Regions from separate parts of the Homo sapiens genome. Here regions 1 and 2 are each linked to region 3. The links are contacts of gene promoters, found by promoter capture Hi-C in blood cells and fetal thymus (Javierre and others, 2016). All regions are on one chromosome and are shown on one strand. The core of a region is centred on a gene start or on the middle of the fragment in contact, and the rest is flanking DNA. Distances in the headings are between cores, read along the strand shown.

Evidence for each region. Contacts are between HindIII fragments. The CHiCAGO score rates a contact against its expected background, and 5 or more counts as called.
Region 1: a contact is called between a fragment that was not itself captured here and the fragment with the promoter of C8orf88 in region 3, in 3 of 17 cell types (fetal thymus, monocytes and M2 macrophages). The highest score is 7.7, in fetal thymus.
Region 2: a contact is called between a fragment that was not itself captured here and the fragment with the promoter of C8orf88 in region 3, in 1 of 17 cell types (fetal thymus). The highest score is 8.7, in fetal thymus.

The regions. Positions count from the first base shown.
Region 1 is chr8:91,086,985-91,089,942 of GRCh38, reverse strand. OTUD6B (OTU deubiquitinase 6B) reads right to left here. Exons shown (of 7, transcript NM_016023.5): 7 at 2,850-2,958. Among named protein-coding and RNA genes, the nearest start is that of LRRC69, 14 kb to the left of the region's middle. The HindIII fragment of the contact is 5,637 bases long and covers 1-2,958 here.
Region 2 is chr8:91,058,876-91,061,987 of GRCh38, reverse strand. OTUD6B-AS1 (OTUD6B antisense RNA 1) reads left to right here. Exons shown (of 3, transcript NR_110438.1): 3 at 1-2,082. Among named protein-coding and RNA genes, the nearest start is that of OTUD6B-AS1, 9.8 kb to the left of the region's middle. The HindIII fragment of the contact is 549 bases long and covers 1,506-2,054 here.
Region 3 is chr8:90,983,694-90,986,760 of GRCh38, reverse strand. It overlaps C8orf88 (chromosome 8 open reading frame 88), which reads left to right and starts at 1,523. Exons shown (of 6, transcript NM_001190972.2): 1 at 1,523-1,647. RefSeq lists a silencer at 1,340-1,499. The HindIII fragment of the contact is 2,363 bases long and covers 1-2,246 here.

The DNA.
Region 1 (2,958 bases), core at 455-2,954, 100 kb before region 3:
AATAAACACATTTTAGTGGTTAAGAATATGAAGAGAAAGGAAAAAAAGTTAAGGTCCATTCAGCTTTTTCAAAGGGGATTCATGTAAGTCTGGCATTAGGCAGTTGCTAAAGTCATGTAAAGTAGATGACTAACTGCCTAATGTGTCCAATTTGTGATCTAAATGGTTTTCTTTAGAACTTTCCAACCTCATTAGCAATAAAACTTATGATTTAGTAAGTGGTTCTCAACTGGGGGCAATTTTGTTCCCAGGGAGACATTTTTTGTTCTTACAACTTTGGAGGGGGATGATACAGGTACTTAGAAAGGAGATGCTGCTGCTAAACATCTTACAATGCCACAACAAAGAATTATCCAACTCAAAATGTTAATAGTGCCACTGATGAAAATCTCTGATCTAGGTATATCAGGCCTTTCCAATGTCAGTCACAAGAGTAGGGGTGGGTGGGGGGTGGGGGAAATGCCTGATTCAAAAACAGCAATTTTTCCATCAGGATTTGGCAAAGTGAAAAAAACCCTTACTTACTGCAAATTAAAACCACAATGAGGTACCATCTCACACCAGTCAGAATGGGTATTATTAAAAAGCCAAAAATTAACAGAAATTGCCAAGGATATGGAGAAAAGGGAACACTTATACATTGTTGGTGAGAATGTAAATTAGTTCAACCCCTGTGGAAAACAGTATGGAGATTTCCCAAAGAATTAAAGATGTAACTACCATTCAATCCAGCAATCCCACTACTGGTTATCTACCCAAAGGAAAAGAAATCATTCTATCAAAAAAACATCTACACTCATGTTTATCAAAGCACTATTCACAATAGCAAAGTCATGGAATCAACCTAAGTGCCTATCACTGGTAGATTAAAGAAAATGTGGTACATAGACACCATGGAATACTATGCAGCTATAAAAAAGAATGAAATCATGTCCTTTGCAGCAACATGGACGTAGCTAGAAGCCATTATCTAAGTGAATTAACACAGAAACAGAAAATCAAATACCACATGTTCTCGCTTATAAAATGAGAGCTAAACAATGGATACACATGGACATAAAGATGGAAATAACAGACAGTGGGGACTCCAAAAGGGTAGGGGAGGTTGATAAACTACCTATTGGGTACAATGTTCACTATTTAGGTGACAGATTCTATAAAAACACACATTCCAGCATTATAAAATATACCCATGTAACAAACCTGCACATGTACCCTTTAAATCTAAAATAGAAAATTAAGAAATAAAATGAAATGAAAAATTTTAAAAACTCATGTAATTTACTTTTTAAAGTGAGGTCATTATTTTTGTTCATCAACTCATGCACTGAAGTTATTGATCCCCATGTTAATCCTATATTTGGTTAAAATTATAAACAATAAATAAGACTTTTTGTCAATACAAGAGTGACAAACAAGAGCTAGATTATATATCATCCCTATTCACGGAAATAAAAATTCAGCAGCCTTATAGAAAGGCAGCAATTTGTTCCAGTATGTCATACTAGTCATCCTGATTATACTGAAATAAGACAACTATAAAACTTCTTCATGGTCAGTATATTAAAAAAGGTTTTAATTTTTTTCTAACTGTACACTTATTTTATAGGATTCTTATATTTGTGTAGATTTATTAAAATCAGACATTACCCTAATTGGTATATGAAGGTAAATTAGCTGAAACATTACTTTTGGAAGTTAAGAAAAATGAAAGCTCTGTTGGGTTCCCTTTCTCCCTTCAACTGACCAAAAGACTTGAAGAATTCATCCAAGGGCAAGGTAAATTAAAAAGCAGGCCTTTTGCGAGCAAGCACAATTCTAAATCATATCCATCTCTCTATTCCCAGCAGTCTGTTAACCTAATGCAACTTCTTACTCATATCCTATCCTCTCAACTGATAGTCTGTCAACAAACATTTTTTAAGCACGCAATGCAGACAGGCCAGGCAATGTGCTAAGTATTTTAAGAGCAGTGAACAAGAAATTCTTGTTTCTAAGCTCTTAACACAGTATGGAAAAAAATAGATGAAAAACAACTAAATTCAAGTAAGTGATTACAAGTGTGTACGTATTAGAAAGAAACAAGATTGGGAGGAGTCTGAGGAGGGTTGTCTCAGAAGGTACTATCAATATGTAAACTGAGACTAGAAAGACAAGGAAGCTGGATAAAGCAGGTTGGGTGAAACATTCAATTCTGAATGGTAGTTCCAAGACCTCAAGTGGGAGAGAACAATGGTGGGTTAAAAGACCCATGTGTTAAGAATTAAAACCTCATGAGCTCTAAGATAAAGACTTAAGACAGGAGGAAACAATCAATGTATGAGGTAACAGAACAGGCAGAGAAAAATTTCATCTGTTCGATAAAAGTTTAAAAAAAAAAAGCATGAAATCACCAAATAAATTCTCAGAAGATCAACTGATCTAGTCCTTCAGCTACTTCATAAGAACCTGTACCAAGAAGGCACTATATTAACAATTGTGTGAAAACATTAATTTGTACAAACTTCCTTCTTACTGCTCCACATTCTTGCACACAAATGTTTATTCTTTATTTTAACATCTATGGGTCTTAAAATATTTTTCAAATTCACTTACCCTAAATAAACATTCATTATTCTAAAAGGTTCTAAGATTGTACCTGATTTCTAAGAGCTATAGCTTAAATGGCTATTACTTTATTTCCCTCTACTTCTGGGGCATAAGCTATGCTCATATATTTATTCAAAATCCCTTAAAATGTAAGAATCTGTGTGTGAAGACAAAGTAAAGGCTGGATACAAAGCAAAAGGAGTTTTCTCCACTTCTAAATTCTTGAATTGTTAAAGAATGACAATTCAAGCAAATAAATGTTGATTTAATTCATTCATTTTTTATTCTTTTTTTGGCAAACATCACATAATATAAGCAAAACTATGCGTTCACTATAGTTACACACATTCTTTTTTGCTTTATACAAGT
Region 2 (3,112 bases), core at 531-3,030, 75 kb before region 3:
AAAAAAATAAGAGAAAGCATAATTCTTTATGGAAGTGAAGAATAGTCTTTTTATCTAAGTATGCCAAAAAAAGCATGTATAAAAAAATACAATTTAAGATGCCATTATGAAAAAACTCCAAGTCAGTGTTTACTAACATCTTTTCAGTTTTAGGAAGGAGGCAGGTTGTCTTGCATCTCATTGGATCTCCGGTACTACCTATTTCTTGAAATACCATAAGTGCTAATATATACTTGCAATAGATAAACATGAGGAGTATTACAAATACAAGAGATAGCAGGAACTATTTTAATATTAAGAGATATCAAATATGCACGCTAGGATTAATAAATGAAATAATTATTTTCCTTCTTCTACAATATTTACTTAATCTGGAGGCAGAAATACATGTTGTCTCTCTTCCTGCTTCTCCATCAAAATCCCGACCAAGTAATCAGGATCTTTGAGAATCACAATAAGAATTACAGCCTCATGTTTGGATTTTTTAAATTTAAATTTTAAATTACTCCTTTCCACTGATATTTATTGAGAAACTGCTATGCTCCAGGTACTGCGATAAACACTGGGCAAATGTTGGAGAGCTAAAAAGGCATATTCCTCTTATAAAGACATTATTTACTTGTAACAAACAAGTAAATAAATGTATTAGTCAATATGTAAGTAAACAAAAAAATGGACAAGCACAAATTATATTAAGTACTATGTAGGAAACCAATAGAGTACTGTAACAGAATAATAAGGTATATGGGATGGGGGTGGGAATCTGTTCAGAGATGATCTACCTGAGAAGGTAACATGTAGGCAGAGATCTGAATCGTGAGGAGTCAGCCTTTCAGAGTAAGTGGAGTAGGCACTTCCAAGAGAAAAGCATATTCCTGGCTATTTGCCTATCAATGTCATCTTGAACAAGGGTTAGCAATCTCCTACCTGTACCACAGATGCTATGTGCCACCTCCATGCTACCTTTGCCACCAAGAGATTCAATGTGATGCATGATTTGAAGGTTCCTCATCCTGATACCCTGTGGAAAGTAAAATCAGTGACAAATAAAAGCAGATCATTATCTCAGGTAGAGTCTGCTAAAGATGATACTTGCTTGTCAGTACATGAGTATCCACCCTAGTAAAAAACCACAGAAGAAGTGGGATTTATCTTCAATGTTCTCTCACTTCCCCTTCCAAGTGCCTCTCCTGCCTTCTGATGCTCTTTCCCACAAGTTGCAGGCAAATAAAGCATGTATATTACTCTCTTTTTATCCAGAGTTGCTCCTTGTCCTTATATGAAGTAGATTCCAGACCTCACAATTGTATATGCCTACCCTTCTACTCCAACCCCTCAAAAAAAGAGGAAGAATGAAAGAATGAACAAGAGAAAAGGAAGGAAGAGAGGGAGAGAGGAAAGGAGGGAAGGATGGTCCTGAAGATCACAGTTCGGTGCTGAAAAAAGCATTTCTATTAAACTTCAAGACAGAATGAATGACCATAGCTAATAATGTACCTTAAGCTTTTCTAGAATCTTTGTATTAAAAAAGTTGATTGTTACTAAATGTATTTTAATCTCATAAAATTTTAGGAATTTAAATGAAGAATTTCACAAAGGGTAAGAAAAATTATATATTATATTTATAAATTTGTCATTATGATTCTCCCATTGTGGAAAAAAAAACAAAATCTCGGTACCCCAATTCACAAAGCCAAAAGGAAGAAAGTAAGCTGAACGCTGAGTCATGCAAGAAACTGCTCGCTTTTGTTCCTAAGCTAATAGCTACAGATAAAAGGTCAGATATCTCCATAGGTAGGTACTCTATGTTCACCTTATGTAAAGTGCCAATTTATTGAGCGTAAGAGGATTACCTAATTGACTATTCCCCAGCCTGCTCCTTTTCTCTTGCAACACATGGAGTCAGCAATGGGACCATATCCTCTCTCTTTCCCCTCCAGCCTGCTTTCCCCCTTTAAATACTGAAGCCCTCAAAATCATCTTTCTAAAAAGGTATGAACCATAGATTGTTCCTGTGGATTTGTGTTTCTTTCTTCCGGGCATATCCTTAAGCTTGGCAAAATAAAATTCTAAATTGATTGAGTCCTGTCTCGGATGCTTTTTGGTTTACGCTATCAAGGTTTGGAAGGCTTAAGACATGTCATTAAGGTACTTTATTTCCTTCTAGCATTTTGATTATACTGAAATTGGGTAATTAGTGGTGCCTGTTTTGAGTAACATGGTGAGTAGAATTAAGAATGGAAAGCACTGGGAAAGGGAAAACAAAAACACATCAAAGATTTCCACCTTTACTTCCTTAGTTTTTTTAAAGAAAAATTAAATGTATTATCTAATCACAAGCTACAAATTAAAATATTTGATTTACTTTTTCAGCAAAAGTTATAAATTATCGAATAGAAATTGGGAAAAGATATGTCATTTTTAACAGTGTTAAAATCTTAGTTATACTCATTTGACTAGTTAGTACAGCTCTTATTTACTTATTCTACAGACAGGTACACTCTTTTATCCTTGTATAGAAGTTACTTTAATTTTTTAGTATTTAAGTTATCCTTAAAATACAACATGAAGCTATTTTACCATATATAATTTACTTAAATATTCTTAAAATAACATTACTTTTAAATAAAATATGTATGTGAATTTAAGAATTCCTTTCTCTAACTCCAGTCCTCAAATGTGACCACTGTTAATAAATCCACTTAATATAAATATCATAATACAAACAGCAGCTGCGTGATCCTTACAAGCTGTGTTAGTTTCCTTGGCCTGCAGTAACAAAGTATCAAAATATGGGTGGCTTAAAACAATAGAAATGTATTATTTTATAATTCTGAAGGCTAAAGTTTGAAGTTAAGATGTCAAAGCCATGCTCCCTCTGAACACATCAGTTCTCTCAGATTTATTATTTCCTTTCCTTTGCTAAATTTAGGTTTTATTTGCTCCTTTGTGCCTAGTTTTTTAAAGTGGAAGCTGAGGCTGTTGACTTGAAATTTTTTTTCTTTCTAATACAGACAGTTTCATGGGATAATTTTTTATTTGAGGATTGCTTTAGAGCATTCCACAAATTTTGGTTTGTTGTGTTTTTTTTTCCAATTCAAAGTACTAATTT
Region 3 (3,067 bases), core at 274-2,773:
CTTCAAGTTTTCTCAGGCAGTGACTAACCTTTAAGTTGCTAAAAGTCATTAACCTGTTTGTTGTCAAGTTCTTGTTGTAAAGGTATGAATTCTAGATTATCCTTGTAGATGCCAAAATTTTATGTCATTATCAATAAGATTTTGAAAAGTTTCGATATGTTTATATGGTTCATTTTTCTTCCTCAATTATCAAAAAATCAAGGAGTCTGTCTAGTCTAATTTCTCTCTTCCTCTCAATAAATTACTAATACTGATCTGAATTGGAATTCTTCCAATTTACATTTTTGTCACAATAGTTTCTACTGACTTCATACAGTGATATGCACAAAATAATTTTATTGTAAGATGTATATAAAATTATACATGCTTCATTGTTAAGTATATTCCTGAAGAAGAAAACTTCTGTTGTGACTAGATGGATGAGAACCACATCCTGCACTTAAGATTTTCTACATCTGGTGGTTGGAATATATTGATTCCACTGTGCAGACTTCTGGTGCCTCACCCCAAGGGATGCCCTTTTATCATGACCCATCTCTGACCCTGGACCCTAGGTCTCTGATGCCAGGCGAGTTGTCTCAGTGGATAGTAGGAGTGTTTCTGGAAGCCATTTCTAAACGGAGACAGCTCCAATAACTTGACTATACATGGAAGTGCTTGTGAAACTTCATACCTTCCAAAATGGTAAATCCTGATAGTGCCCCACTTAAAACCGTTCAGTGTTTGCCAGTGCATTTTCAACTGTCCTTTTGGTGCTTGGGGACGTGAGGGACTGCCACCTCCACGTCCCTCAGTACAAGCAGACAGTCCCCCTCTGGGGACACTCAAAGATAATGAAAAATTAGCAAAAGGATTGAAGGTGAAGATTAAAAAGAAATGATTCGGATGGAGTTGCCTTAATTCATTTTGTTCCTTTCAGGATGGCAGTCTGTGTGAAACGCTGTATCCCTGGTCTGAGGTAAACCAGGTCTCAAACATCTTCCTCCCTGCCAACCCGAATCCCGACACCCACTAAATGCACCAAGGGGAAAGCAGCGCCTGCCAGCAGCTCTGACGGGGGACAGGAGTAGGGTGGACTCAGTCGTCAGCACGACGGCGGCCTCCCTCACAGAGGCGGCCTCCCTCACAGACGCTGCCTGGAACCCGCCGCCAAGCCCCCAGCAGGCGGCCCGCCTGGCGCCTCCCAGTCTTCGCACAAGCAGGGCCACGGTCTGGGGCCCCCAAGGCCGTTCACGCGGGCGCGCCCCGTCGAGGGCTAGCCTGTCAGCGCCTCACTCGCGGCCTCCTACCCTAGACGACCGGCTCTGGGTGGCGCCGCTCCAACCCCACGCGCCCAGCTCGCCCGGGAAAGCGCGCGCCACCCTTTTAACGGTTCTACCCCGGCAGGGGTGCGGCTGCTCTCGAGGCTCAGCGCCCGAGGCCACGCCCCGCGCCCGCCCTGGGCCCGCCTCGTGCCCCTCGGAGCCGCCTCCCGCCCCGCCCCCCGCCCCTCGCCCCCCGCCCCTCGCCCCCCGCCGCCGCCACCGCGGTCAGCCAGCGGACCAGCGGCAGGAGCCGTTCCCCGACGGGCAGCAGGGCGCTCGGCCTCCGCGTGTGGGCTGAGCGCGGCGACGCTGCTGCCCCGAAATCCCCGTGGATTTTGAGTCGGTAAGTGGCTAGGGAGGATGAGCGACACTGGGGGACGGAAGTCGGGCCCCGTGGTGTGGAGGAGGCGGGTGGGCGCCGTCTCCCAGGCCCGACCCCGGGAAAGTTGAGGCGAGGAAGAGAAGCTCTGAGGTGGGTCGGGAAATCTCTCAGGGCCCCTTCAGTACCCTGTGGACCCTGAATGGGAGTGGGATGGGAGCGAGAGCGTCGGATGAGGGGAAAGAAAGTGTAGGGGGCCAGGGGAGCCCGACGGAGGGGCAAGTGGCCGAGACCAAAGCCATCGCCAAAAAAGGAGCTAAGTACACAGCTCCCCTTGGCTCTGCCCCAGCACCTGGTGCCAGGCGGTGGGAGGCTTTCAAGACGATTTGCCCCCTCCACCCGGTGGCACAAGGTTTTCATTGCTGGTGTTTTAGTCAAAGCTACGGAAAGGACAGTTACATGACTAAAGTAATCACAGACACCTATTACCTGGACAGCTTTAGCCCATCCGAATGTTAAATTGTGTTTTGTTTTGAGAAATCCCTCAAATAGACCAAAAAAAAAATTAAATTAGTTATAAAGAGAAGGCATGAAATGGAAGATATGTTGGAACTCTCCAAGCTTCTAGTTTTTTGATATTTTCGTTTTAATTTTTCCTTAATAGTGCAACCAGATATATGGAACGTGAAATGTCTTTCACCACTTGAGTCATAGGTGGTTTATTTCTTACTCCCCGATGTTTCCTGTATGTTTCTCTTCATCTATCATTTTGTCAGTGTGAGCAGTTTACTTACAAGCAGTATTGGGTTTCAAGGAATCCTAACTTTGTAATGTTTTGAAGTTGGAAATTGAGATGAAATTTTATCTGGTTATCATATGGGAATTATACACAAGGTAAATTCAAATATGGTCTTTTCATTTCATTATTTCACTTTATATGATCTTATTTCTCAACGGCAGCGGTAGCATCAGTACTTTCCAAAGAAGACTAGAATTTATATTGGAGTTTAAGTATAGTACTCAGCTTCTAAAAACAGTGCATAGTATATTTCATATGCTGTGATCTATGGTTAGTATGGCAGTATACCATGTCTGTAGCGTGAGGAAAGCACAGTACTCCCTAATTTATTTAGTATTCTAAGAAAAATGGTAAATTGAAGAAATGGATATTATTAGCATATACCAATTTATTCTGCATGGCCTTATAAATAAATGTTACTTTTCACATTAATTTTTAAATCTATACACGCAGTGTCCACATGTAATAAATGGACAGTCAGATATCTTTCTTTTATGTAACAAATAGGCAAGTTTTGATATAAAGGTGTGAACTTTGTAGTCAAATCCTAATATCTAGCACTTAGTAGCTATGTGGACTTGGGCATGTCTCTTATTTTTCTGAGCCTCAGGTTTCTTATCTGTGAAGTGGGACTAATAATAATTT